Regions from separate parts of the Homo sapiens genome. Here region 1 is linked to region 2. The links are contacts of gene promoters, found by promoter capture Hi-C in blood cells and fetal thymus (Javierre and others, 2016). All regions are on one chromosome and are shown on one strand. Each heading gives the region's core, a stretch centred on a gene start or on the middle of the fragment in contact. The rest is flanking DNA. Distances are from core to core; before and after follow the strand shown. Region 1 has its middle 44 kb from the start of LINC02426. Region 2 holds the start of PPFIA2 (PPFI scaffold protein A2).

What was found. The method cuts DNA at HindIII sites, captures the fragments that hold promoters and counts their contacts. A CHiCAGO score of 5 or more calls a contact.
Region 1: a fragment that was not itself captured here is called in contact with the fragment with the promoter of PPFIA2 in region 2 in 1 of 17 cell types (neutrophils); the score reaches 5.6 in neutrophils.

The regions. Positions count from the first base shown.
Region 1 is chr12:81,994,584-82,001,523 of GRCh38, forward strand. No RefSeq gene overlaps it. Among named protein-coding and RNA genes, the nearest start is that of LINC02426, 44 kb to the left of the region's middle. The HindIII fragment of the contact is 4,069 bases long and covers 662-4,730 here.
Region 2 is chr12:81,757,948-81,764,574 of GRCh38, forward strand. PPFIA2 (PPFI scaffold protein A2) reads right to left here and starts at 1,403. Exons shown (of 33, transcript NM_003625.5): 1 at 1,333-1,403; 2 at 453-560. RefSeq lists an enhancer at 263-1,201. The HindIII fragment of the contact is 5,625 bases long and covers 963-6,587 here.

The sequences.
Region 1 (6,940 bases), core at 1,446-3,945, 240 kb after region 2:
TTGAAAGGAGTTTAGTGTAAACTGTATTTGTAAAGTAAAATCTTCTCTTGGCTCCAATCTACTCCTTCCACCTTACTGTGATTCTTGGAAGCATTTTCAAATACAATGTGTTCCTAGGCAACTTCAACAAAAGAATTATATGTATTTAATTTTTAAAATGCTATAAAGTTGCCCCAGTGATATTGTCCTTGAGTTTGATGATATAAAAATAATGCATGTTCTTACTTAGACATATTTATTAGATATTGCTAAAAGTCTTGAGAATAAACTTTACTATGACTATATTAAATTTAACTTCCAAAGGAACGAAGAGACATTTCCTCATGAGGATTTGTAATTTAATATAGAAGAGTAATTTAGCGTAAACTCCAGAATATGTATAGTGTAAATAAAGAACTAGATTAGGTAGTAAGAAATATAAGGATTACACCCAATGGTGCATACATAGACACACACCCACAAGCACACACACATGTAGAGAAAGACACACACCCACAGGCTGTAGGCCACTTTTTCACAGAAGAATTTTGTTCACTGCAGAAATAGTAGATACCTTAAATACCTTAAAAGATTAAGATATCTTTGGTAAATAATGAAGAAAATAATTTCATCACTGGAAATTATTATTTTATAGAACAGATTATAGAAAGGGTCTATAAGAAGCTTGTCCAACCCCTAGCCTGTGAGTTGCATGCGGCCCAGAACAAATTTGAATGTGGCCCAACACAAATTCATAAACTTTCTTAAAACATTATGAGTTTTTTTTGCCACTTTTAAAAGGTCATCAGCTACTGTGTTCGTGTATTTTAGTGTGGCCCAAGACAATTCTTCTTCCTCCAATGCGGCCCAGGGAAGCCAAAATATTGGACACTCCTGATCTGTAACATATAATTTAAGAAAATAGTAATACATACAAAACAATTTTTAAAACATACCCAGGTCCCATTTCTGTAGCTCATGAATTTGATTTGGACTGGGTTTCCTTCATTTGCATTTAATGTTTTTACTTCCAGCTGGCTATGCACTGTATGACAATGCTCATTTTTGCTTACCTTATTAGAAACATTTATCTTCACAGTGTGTATCAACTGAATAAAATGACAGATACTCTGCCCAGTGTTTCCTCTCATTATGCTCTACTTGACCATACAAATGGTAATAGAGGTAAAACAGATACACAGGCCTCCAAAGCTGCATCAAAAGATGTAAAATTTCTTTGATCTTAACATCTTAAGTGAAGGTCCGATAAGGAACACATTACTCTATAATTTCCTTAAGAGTAGGATGAGCATGAATGAGCACCTGTCTTTTTTATTGTTTTATCCTGACCACCTAGTTGGGTTAAACATAGAAGATGTACAATAAAAATATGCCACATTATTTATAAATGTATGTAGTGGTTCAGAGATGCCAACTCCAAATAAGTGGGAAATGATTTTTTATGGATTTATTTTGAGATTTAAAAAAGTCAGATTCACTTCTATTCATGCTAAAGATTTAATGAATGGACTATAAAAAGATGTTTAAGACAATTCTACTTTCGATTTTTAGCAATTTCAATAACATGCCTTTTGAAACTGAAGGCAAAATATACCTTCTTGCAGAAATACATGTTATTGGAATTTTTCACAGATTGCTGAAAGCTCTAAGGGCTGAGATATAGTATTAGTTATCTCTTCCCTAGCACTCTTAACTGAAATATTCAGGTGCTCTATAAGAGTAGGGTTTTTGGGTGTTGTTTATACCATTCTGGAATGACTTAGTGGTGATAATTGCAAAATATTGTGAATACACCAAAAATCACTGATTTTACACTTTAATATTGTTAATGTGTTGAACTTTATGTTATATGAATTTTATCTCGATTTAAATAAATGAAAAACAAAAAAGTGATTTGAATGGAGAAGGCATTTTATTAAAATTTTGTAGTTAATTCTTATATTTAAAACAATTCCAACTTTAAAAAATTGCCTGCCAATTGATTAATAAAATAATAAGATGTGGCAGCCACTCACTCAGCGCCTCCTCTGGAGAGAGCATAATTGACACACACATCCAGCTACTATGTCTTTGAATTTCTATCTAGTCAGCAACTATATTAGTCTGCTAGGGCTGCATAACAAAATACTACAGACTGGGTGGTTTAAACAACAAAAATTTATTTTCTCACAGTTCTGGAGCCTGGAAGTCCAAAATTAAGGTGCCAGCAGGGTTGGTTTCTGGTGTGGCCTCCCTCATTCACTTGCAGACTGCACCTTCTCATTGTGTTCTCACATGGCTTTTCTTTTGTGGGATGTACAGAGAGGGAAAGAGAGAGAACTCTGGTGTCTCTTCCTCCACAGATGAGGACAACAGTCCTTTCATATTAGGACCTTACCTTAAGATTTTATTAAAACTTAATTATATTCTGAAAATCCCTATCTCTAAATACAGTCACACTGAGAGTTAGGATTTCTAAATATGAATTTTGGAAAGGCACAATTCAGTGTATAACAGCTCCAGACATCCCAGTGTGGCACTATTCCTCAAGGGACCAACTGACCACATGGTGGAAATCAACAGCATTGGGCCCTTTCCATCCTGAGAAGGGCAGTGGTTGATTCTCACAGGGTTAGACACCTACTTAGGATGTGCATTTGCCTTTCCTGCTTGCTGTGACTCAGTTGCCACCACCAGCCTGAGGCTATTGATACAGACATACCCAAGACTTGGCAATTAAAAAAAAAAACAGGTTTAATCGACTTACAGTTCCACATGGCTGGGGAGGCCTCACAATCATGGTGGAAGGCAATTCTCCATAAGAGCCCCAGCCCTGCAGCAAAATTCTGCCTGGGCATCCAGGCATTTCCATACATCCTCTGAAATCTAGGTGGAGGTTCCCAAACCTCAATTCTTGACTTCCATGTACTTGCAGGCTCAACACCACATGGAAACTGCCAAGGCTTAGGGCTTCCACCCTCTGAAGCAACAGCCCGAGCTGTACCTTGGCCCCTTTTAGTCACGGCTAGAGCAACTGGGACACACATCACCAAGTCTCTAGACTGTACACAGGAGAGGGGCCCTGGGCCCAGCCCATGAAACCATTTTTTCCTCCTAAATCTCCAGGCCTGTGATGAAAAGGGCTGCCATAAGAGTCTCTGACGTGCCCTGGAGATCTAACATTCAGCTCCTCATTACTTATGCAAATTTCTGCAGCTGGCTAGAATTTCTCCTAAAAAAAAAATGGGATTTTTTTTTTCTATCACATTGTCAGGATGCAAATTTTCCAAACTTTTATGCCCTCTTTCCCTTTTAAAACTGAATGCCCTTAACAGCACTCGAGTTACCTCTTGAATGCTTTGCTGTTTAGAAATTTCTTCCACCACATACCCTAAATCATGTCTTTCAAGTTCAAAGTGCCACAGATTTCTAGGGCAGGGGCAAAATGCTGCCAGTCTGTTTGTCAAAACATAACAAGAGTTACCTTTGTTCCAGTCCCCAACCAGTTCATCATCTTCATCTGAGACCACCTCAGCCTGGATTTCATTGTCCATATCATTATCAACATTTTGGTCAAAGCTACTCAACAAGTCTCTAGGGCGTTCCAAACTTTTCCACATCTTCCTATCTTTTGAGCCCTCTAAATTGTTCCAACCTCTGCCTGCTACCCAGTTCCAACGTCGCTTCAACATTTTTGGTTATCTTTACAGCAGCACCTCACTCTACTTGTACCAATTTACTGTATTAGTCAATTTTCACACTACTGATGAAGACACAACCAAGACAGGGAAATTTACACACACAAAAAGAGGTTTAATGGACTTACAGTTCCACATGGCTGGAGAAACCTCACAATTATGGCAGAAGGCAAGGAAGAGCAAGCCACATCTTACATGGAGGGCAGCAAGCAAACAGAGAGAGCTTGTACAGGAAAACTCCCCTTTATAAAACCATTAGATCTCATGAGACTCATTCACTATCATGAGAATAGCATGGGAAAGACCTGCCCCCATAATTCAAATACCTCCCTCCGGGTCCCTTCCACAACATGTGGGAATTCAGAGATGCCATTCTCTGGCATGGCTTTGCTGAATTTCTGATTTTTCTCTACCACTTATCAATGTCCAGAAGTTGAAAGCCAAGTTATCTTCATGGTGTATCCCTCTTACTGGTGTTCCCAATAGTGACAATACATTAGCCACCAGTGGCAAAGAATGCTCTCTATGTGGAGATTGTCCCACTGTGCCTCACACCACAGGATGTGAGCATATCTTCTGGTGTTTCTGTGCTAAAAGTAGTTTATTACTTGACATGTACTTTACTTGCCCTAAGGGTGGCACAGAAGTACATAAGTCTGCAGCCACTGAAATCAGGAATTGACATGTCAGAGGTAAATGCTTTTTGGAAAATAAAATTCCTTCCTCTGAGGAAAAAAATTCACTGTGTTTAAATTCTTAATATTAGTCATCCTAAGTACATCATTAATGTATCCTTTATAAGGAATGTGCTGCCTAGCCACTGACTTCTGTTCCTTTCAAGGCATGACTAAATCCTAATCACTGGAAACCATGTGATTCTAAATATATTATGTAAATGTTAACGTATTATGTTAATGTATTTGGGTGGGAACACAGCCAAACCATATCAGCATCCAACCAGCAGAAACACTTCACAGCAAGGAGATATGGGAGTAGTACCATGCCCATGGGATTGACTAGTCATAACACATCCCTCATCATCCAGAAATAACAAGCTTCATAGAACAATGGAATGACTGAAGCTCTAGCTTGGAGGCAACACTTGAAGAAGACGTGTGGGGGTAGGGCATCCTTCATGATGTTGTATGTGCATGAAATCAGGAAACTCTATATGATAATGTGTCATTAATAGGAAGATTGCGTGGGTCTGGGAACCAAGGGGTAGAAACATGACTGGCCCATCTTACCATGACCCTTACCATCACTACCAATGACTCCTTGGAGAATTTTTATTCCTGTTGAAGTCCACTCTGAAATCTGTATTGTTTGCTGTTCTAGTCCACAAAGGTCCTGCCAAAGGACACAGCAAAGGTCTCATTGAACAAGATATGCCTGCTATCAAGGAACTTTGGATTTCTTGTGCCCAAGAACAAGCAAATAAGAAGAGAAGTCATTGTTTCAGCAAGGATAATTGTGTTCATCAGAAGGAGGTAGGGATGCTGTTACACAATGGGGACAAACTGGAATACATATGGAACCCAGGTGTCTCTGGTATTCCCTAGCCCCTTAATAACTGTGATCAAACATATGCAGCAACTCCAGCCTAGGGAGGGTATAATTATCAAGAACTCAGACCCCTCAGAATGAAGGTTTGAGTCACACAATCCAGTAAGCCACCAAGGCCTGATGAGGTAGTATCTGAGGGTGCGGGGGATTCAGAATGAAGAGTGGAGGAGGACAGGTTGACTAGTTATTGCCTCTAGATCAATAGCAGGGATACAGCCTATTGTTCAAACTACTAACTTTCTTATTTTAGATGTCTCTAAAATCTAAAAGATTGTGGTATGACAGGCCTAGGCCTACAAGAACCATGGAGGAGCTGCTCCTGGAACATGCATGGAGGGATAGATGTGTGAAAACATATAAGGAGATGTTGACACAAAGTGTCTAGTCATAAAAGAAAGATAATAAGAGACTGCAAGAAAAGGAATAATGATTAACAATAGAGATTATAAGGGATTTTTACACAGTTATATATTTTTACTCCTTGTAAAATTGTCTAGAGAGAGCAAATATTTATGTAATTAAATAAATCCATGGAATAGAAATGTTTATAGAAAGATTGAACAGCACGTCCAAAGACCCATGGGCAGAAGAATTTTAGGTGAGGGGAAGGAAGATTCTAGGGGATAGCCCTAGGGCAAAATACTTTCCAATCTGCCCAGACTGTGATTCAGGCAAACAATAGATAGAGCAATGTCCACCTGGGTCCTCTGCTGAGAGGGTAGAAAATACTCTTCTTTCTCCCAGATGAAAGCTACAAAGTCCACCTATCATATTATCTGCATTCAAATCCTCATTCCACATTAACTATCGCTACGTTCTTTTCCTCAGTCTCCTTGTTTGTAAAATGGAACCATAGCTGCACTGCCATAGAAATTTGTTTTGGGAATAAATAAGATCAATGTGCTTAGAAAAGTGCCTGGCACACAATATAAACTCAATTCATGTTATCATTTTCTCATCATGGTTTTTCACAAATTATCTCATTACTTTGAAAAAAATATGAGGTTAAATTATGAAGTAGTTTTTCTATCAAATATGTGGTAAAACAGGAAAAAAGACAATAATACTGAGTTTGGAAGGCAATTTCATTCTAATGATTTTCTGGTTTATATAATCACATTGTGTAACTCCAGATTTCAGGGTTTGATGGTTTTGAAACAAACTTTAAAATAATATAGACAAGCAAAATCTATATAATTTTCAATTAAGAGATTCAACTGGAAAGTACTCAAGGTTTTCAAGTGTAACTGTTGAGATTTGACAAAGTGAAAGGTAAATCTTACAGAATGCCCTATTGTGCTATATAGTTGAGCTTTCTAAAACTAAGAGTGATATATTTCCAGGATTCCAATTTTCCATGGGAAAAACCCCACTATCACTGAGTGAAGAAGATTTTGGCACTCTCAGTCCTCATTATCCCAGCTGCTTAAGAGTAGAGGAAGAAGACCTTCCCAGGATGGCCACTCACCACCTTGGTAAAGCACCACTGAGATTCATATCTAGAATTGTCTCTGTAAGTCAGTGCACTTTTTTTTTCATTCATTAAAATAAGCAATGTTGATTGAGAACCGATTATAACAGAACAGGTCTGTCATAGAAACAGGAGATGAGGCAATCAAAAGACAAACTAGCTCACTCCTTCAAGGAGTTTACATTCATCAGAGGAAACCAAACAGTCAATAGGTAAACTAAGAAAT
Region 2 (6,627 bases), core at 153-2,652:
AGAGAAATCCTAGCCATTGTCTGATTACATTACATGAATATTCTCCCTCCTATTTAACTCTTTGAAAGCCTCTGTCCTCGGGAAATATGATTATCACCTTTAATGGACACATTTTACACTTTCTTTACCCTAGTGCATTTACGGACAGCCAGAGCCAGCTCAACCCACACTACTGGACAGTTATCTCTCAGCCACACCCCCCACCACCTTGAAGAAGTTGACTTCATCATTTCCACACTAAAATTGTTCATCCTGCCCAACAGGACACAGCCAAGTAGGCAGGAGGTAGAGAGATAGGAGATGGAGAGGATGAGGTGAAAGCAAAAGGCACCTAACGGTAATCAACAAGGAGGAATTTGCATCTCATCTTCCCTGGGGGCGGGGTGGGGCCGGGGAGGTGGTCAAAAAATACAGCGAAAGGAGACAGTAAAACTCAAAGACAGCTTCTGTACCTAATGTCTGTGATTTCGGGTCCTTGCTTCTTCAATTGATCAATGACAACCGCAGTCTCCGGCTTGAGGAGAAGGGAGGCTCACACCCAGCACTCCTGGACCATTTCCCTAGCAACGGGAGGAGAAAGGCAGCTCAGACACACGCGTGCCCCGGCGCCCTCCCGGAACGTGCCCCGGCCCGGTGGCGTGGCAGGAGCTCGGCATCTTCCCGTGGCTCCGTCAGCAGCCAAAAGGAGAAGCGTCCATCGGAAAAATGGCATATTACAAATTTTGCTTTGGGAAGCAAAGCTCGGTTCAGACCATTGTCAAAGGAGGAGAGGGGGAGGCGGCTCTTAAAGCAGCCGCGGCCCCTTTGCCAGAACAGCCGCAGCTCCCCGCGTGCAGCTGGAGCCCCGGGGCGGAGACCGGAGACCGGGGACTGGGTTTGACTTTCAGAAACTTAACCACGCGGCGCCGCTCCCCCTCCGCGCCCGGGCCACCCGGGGTGTGTGGGGCGTCCCTCCAAAAGAAAGCTTGGAGAAAAGGCGTGAGAAGTATCTGGGAGAGAAGTTCTCCACCCAGTCTCCCCTCCTGGAGCCCCTCTGGAGTTTAAGGCTAACCCTGGGAGTTAGAAACCTAAAGGAAAACGAGTCCCTAGGGATGCAAAAAGCAGGACAGGTCTCCTCCTGGCCCCCAGCCTGTTTCCGCGCGCTCCCGTGTCTCGTTTCACTTAAAGGAGGCGCTTTTTCTCTGGAAAGGCAAACATCACCCCACGCCGTCCCCCGGCCCCCCTTCCCTCCCCCCCGCCGCCCCCCCGCCGCCACAGCACACACACCCATTTTTCTCCTCCCGGCCTTTCTGCAAGCCTCTTTGCTTGCTTCAATTGGCCGGAAGAACCAACCTGCTGGCAGCCGGTGAGGACGCTACAGCATCTTCTCTCCTCACTTGCCTCGTGCGGTGGCTGCTACTCCTCCTCCTCCGTCTCCTCCCCTCCTCCTCCTTGGCAGCCACCACCTCCTCTTCCTCTGGAACAAGGGCTTCCCCTGGAAGCTGCTGCAGTGGTTTCCACCGGCCCTTAAATAAATTCTGAAGTAATCACGTCTTTGCTCTCCTCCTCACGCACACGCGCCCGCGGATACACTCGTCTCCCCCAGAGCCGCTCCCGGGCTGCCGAGGCTCGCTCTGCTCCCAGTGCCCCCTGCGAAGGCGAGGGCCAGGGATGGGCAAAGTGGGAAGGGGGCACACGCTTCCCCGCCTGGGCTTCTTTCACACAATGGGCTCTACAGCCTTCGCTTGTGTCAGCCTGCGCTGGTGGGGATGGGAACGGACTTGGGCACCTTTTGGCTCCCCGGTCTTCTGTGCTTGTCATTTCTTTAAGCAGCTTTCTTCCCACTGGGCCAGGGCATGGTAGTCATGGTTGTAGGGACCTGAGCCAATCTAGGGTGTGGCGGCATCTGTCATTTCTCATTACCTCTTCAGTTCTTCTTCATTCATATTGTTTTGGTAATGGGAATTGTATGTTAAGTATTCCCTGCCCGAGTAAATTTTAGCTTTGAGCAGAGTCTGGTCTCTCCATCGCGCTCCAGTCCCCCTTATATCTCCACCTCCCTTTACCTACCCTCTTTTCTTTCCGTTGCTGCTGTCCATTCATACAGACTGAGGAAGCAGGAGACAAAATCAGTACCTACTCTGAGCAGAAAGGGAACGTTTCTGTGAGGGAGAGTCACGAATCCTGCTGGGTTTGGTGAAAATGAAGAGGACATGCATGAAGGAATTGGAGGATTAAACACTGAATATATTTTGGGGGTTACTGAAAATATTCTGAGTGTGCTACACGAAAGCCAAAAGACGTGTTTTACTTTTGTGTAACGCCAAGAGTCCAAAGTTAACAAAGAACTAGTATGTAAATAACTGTTCACTTAAAATTAACTACAATATCCAAGAAACAATCTTTGTTTCTGAGGGAAGTATTTAATTCAGTTAGCGACTTTACAATGGAAAGTGGGGTAAAGCTCATGTATTTACCCAACTTCTATTCTAGACTGTTATTTAAATTTTACAACACAACACAATCCTATAAGAAGTATAAAAATAATACGAAAATTCATTAGATGTCAACTGGAGCACTATTTCTCAGACATAATGTGCATACAGATCATCCATGGATCTTGTTAAGTTGTAGATACTGATTCACCAGGAATGGGGTGAAACCTGAAATTCTACCCTTCTAATGACTCCCAGATGGTACTACACTTGAGGAGGAAGGGTCTAGACCACCCAATCGACCCACAATTTGATGTGGCTTAAATACCCCTAACTACAGGAAACTCTTCACCTCACAGGATAGCCTAGTCTATTTTCAGACAAACTTCATATTGTAATAGCTTCAACATACTAATCATATATCAGTACTCATAACTTTCACTCTCTAGAATTCTACACAAAACATAAAAATTCCTTATACATGAGAGATATTCTTATTTTTACATATAGCTATTATGTCTATTTTTACAAGAATTCCTTCCTTATTAAACCTTGGTTTGAATTTCCTTGGCAATCAACGTTTGTTAATTACTGGCTCAGATGTTCCTACTGTTTCCAAGAAGAGTTTTGATTTCCTTGAGTCCCATTCGTATGTCAAATACAAGTTTTAATTGTAAGTATAATCCCCACATACAGTTGACACAGCATAGTTAAAGGCTAACCCATGGTAGGTATCGCAGAAAGAAAAACTTTGATAATGGGAGGCAGAAAAAAATATCACGAGTTAAAGGATATTTTGTTAAGAAGATACAGTCTTCATAGTAAATTTCAGCTGAAAAACTTGACATTATCACTGCTAACTTCACTGCAAAGAGTGTAAATAATATATTAAAACTGAGAAAGACTGTTTAAAGTAGCAATTTTGCATGAGGCATTAGGTGAGCCGATTCACATGAGAAGAGTTACCACCTGCACCAGTTTCTCTAGTTTAGGCCCTTAAATTTAGCATACAAGAGACACTCCAGAAGGGCTTGTTACAACACAGATTGCTGGGCCCTATCCTTCGAGTTTCTGATTCATTACATCTGATTCATTACGTGCCTATTAAGTTCCCAGGTGGTACTAATATTGCTAGGTCAGGGATCCCACTCTGAGAAACACTGTGTAGATACATCTGGAGAAATTTGGGAACAAAAGAAGCACAGAGCAAAAAAAAAAAAAAAAAAAAAGAACAGGGAAATATTTTTTATTCAAAGAAAAAACATCCCCCATACTAATATAAATCTGACTCTACTGTTTTTGATGCCCAATGAATTATTAAGATGAGATATGCTTGTCTCCTGAATAGTCAACCAGATTTAAGTAGAAGTAGTGAAAGCCATTATTAGTCTTAGTGCCTAATATCAATCAAAGTAGTCCACACCAGAATATAATATTATAGTAGCCACATGTACTAATGCTTCTTCTTAACATTTTATTTTAATTATGAGTTTTTTTGTCTATACACTCCTGTGATGGTTAATACTAAGGGTCAACTTGATTGGATTGAAGGATGCAAAGTATTGATGCTGGGTGTGTCTGTGAGGGTGTAGTCAAAGGAGATTAACATTAAAGTCAGTGGGCTGGGACAGTAAGACCCACCCTTAATCTGGATAGGCACCACCTAATCAGTTGATAGCGTAGCTAGAATATAAAGCAGGCAGAAAAATGTGAAAAGACTAGACTGGCCTAGCCTTCCAGCCTACATTTTCTCTTGCACTGGATGCTTCCTGCCCTCGAACATTGGACGCCAAATTCTTCAGTTCTTGGACTGGCTCACCTTACTCCTCAGTGTGCAGACAGTCTATTGTGGGACCTTGTGATCATGTGAATTAATACTTAATAAACTCATATATATATATGTGTGTGTATATATATATATATATATATATATATATATATATGTCTCTAGCAGGACAGAAGTATATATATATATGTGTGTGTGTGTGTGTATGTCTCTAGTGGGACAGAAGTAATAGGATGTGTATATGTACATATATATACGTATATATGTATATATACGTATATATATGTATATATGTTCACACCAAGACTATCAGTGTTCTCCATACTATTATAAGTAGAGTCCTTAGCATTTTGGGGTCTAATCATATTAAGCAGCCAACTCTAGAAGCTCCAAAACCAATAAAATAACTCCATTCTTAATATTTTGTTCCTCTAAAACCACTCTTGGTACCAAAATCTGTATTAATCAGGGTTCTCTAGCGGGACAGAAGTAATAGGATGTGTATATATGTATATATACGTATATACACAGGATTTCCTGTAAGTAAAGGTGCCAGGTGTCTTGCCAGGTGTCTACTGTTAAAGTGATGTTATTGACTGGAAAAGAATAGGACCGCTCAACTTGGAATGGGGATCTCTGGAGGGACCCTGATAAAGCAGGGGACACTGAGTTTGTGAACTCTGATGAATCTTTTTTGCCAGAAAAACAGCTTCTCCATCCCCAGTAGTGGCAACATCCACTCCCTGACCCATGATGCAGTCAGCCTTTCCATCTTTGTCTGAGGAGATGGAAGCTGCACTGCCTGAGGCAACAGTGATGGCCTACCCTGAGGCAGCTGCCAGGCAAGATAATGTTGATTTTCCTCAGAAGCCACCCCCAACGCCCATTTGCTTCTAGACCTATAACTGGACTAAAGCCCCAGGGGGCCCCTAGAGGTGAGGTTGAGAGCATGACCCATAAGGAGGTGTGCTACACTAGAAAAGAACTGCCTGAGTTTTCTAATTTATGTAAGCAGAAATCTGGAGAACAGGCATGGGAATGGATATTAAGGGTTTGGGATCATGGCAGAAGGAACATAGAGTTGGATCAGGCTGAGTTTATTGATTTGGGCTCACTAAGTAGGAACTCTGCATTTATTGTTGCAAGTTGGGGAGTTAAAAAAGTTCTAATAGTTTATTTGCTTGGTTAGCTGAAATATGGATTAAAAGATGGCCCACTGTGAGTGAGCTGGAAATGCCTGATCTCCGTAGGTTTAATGTAGAAGAAGGGATCCAAAGGCTTAGGGAGATTGGGATGGTGGAGTGGATTGGTCACTTTAGACCTACTCATCCCAGCTGGGAGGTCCAGAAGATATACCCTTGACCAATGCTTTGCGAAATAGATTTGTGAGGGCAGCATCTGCATCTTTGAAGAGCTCTGTAATTGCTCTTCTCTGTATGTCAGATCTAACAGTGGGAACTGCAGTCACTCAACTACAAAATTTAAATACAGTGGGAATAATTGGATCCTAAAGAGGGGCCAAGTGGCAGCATTCAACCATCAAAGGCAAGGTGGGCCTGGCTACCATAATGAACAGCAGAGGCAAAGCAGCAATCAGAAGAGTCTGACTTGTGTAAGGCTCTGACATTGGCTAACTAATCACGGTGTTTCTAGAAGTGAAATTGATAGGAAGCCTACTGCATTCCCACTTAATTTATACAAGCAGAAAACTTCCAGGTTGAATGGACAAAAGACTAATTTGAATTATAAAAACAGAGAATCATGGTCCCTCTATCAATTTCCAGACTTGAGCCAGTTTACAGACCAAGGACCCCTTGAATGGAGGGGAGGCCATGTCCCCTTGAGGAAGGACCCCACTACACTACCGACAATTTATGCTGTTAATCTTTCTCCCATCCTCTCCCAAGGAGAACTCTGGCCTTTTACCAGAGTAACTGTGCAATGGGGAAAGGGAAATGATTAGACATTTTGGGGACCACTGAAGACTAGCTTGAGCTGACATTGACTCCAAGGGACCCAAAATGTCATTGTGGTCCTCCAGTTAAAGTAGGGGCTTATGGAGGTCAGGTAATTATAGGAGTTTTAGCTCAGGTCCAACTTACAGTGGGTCCAGTGGGTCCAGAGACTCATCCTGTGGTCATTTCCCCAGTGCCAGAATGCATAATTGGTATAGACATACTTAGCCACTGGCATAACCCTCACGTTGGCTCTGTGACTGGTAGGGTGACAGCTATTATGTTGGAAAATACCAAATGAAAGGCGTTAGAGCTGCCTCTACCAAGAAAAATAGTACATCAAAAATAGTATTGCATCCCTCCTGTTCAACTCTCCTATTTGGCCTGTGCAGAAGACAGATGGACCTTGGAGAATGACAGTGGATTATCATAAGCTTAACTAAGTGGTGACTCCAATTGCACCAGATGTGGC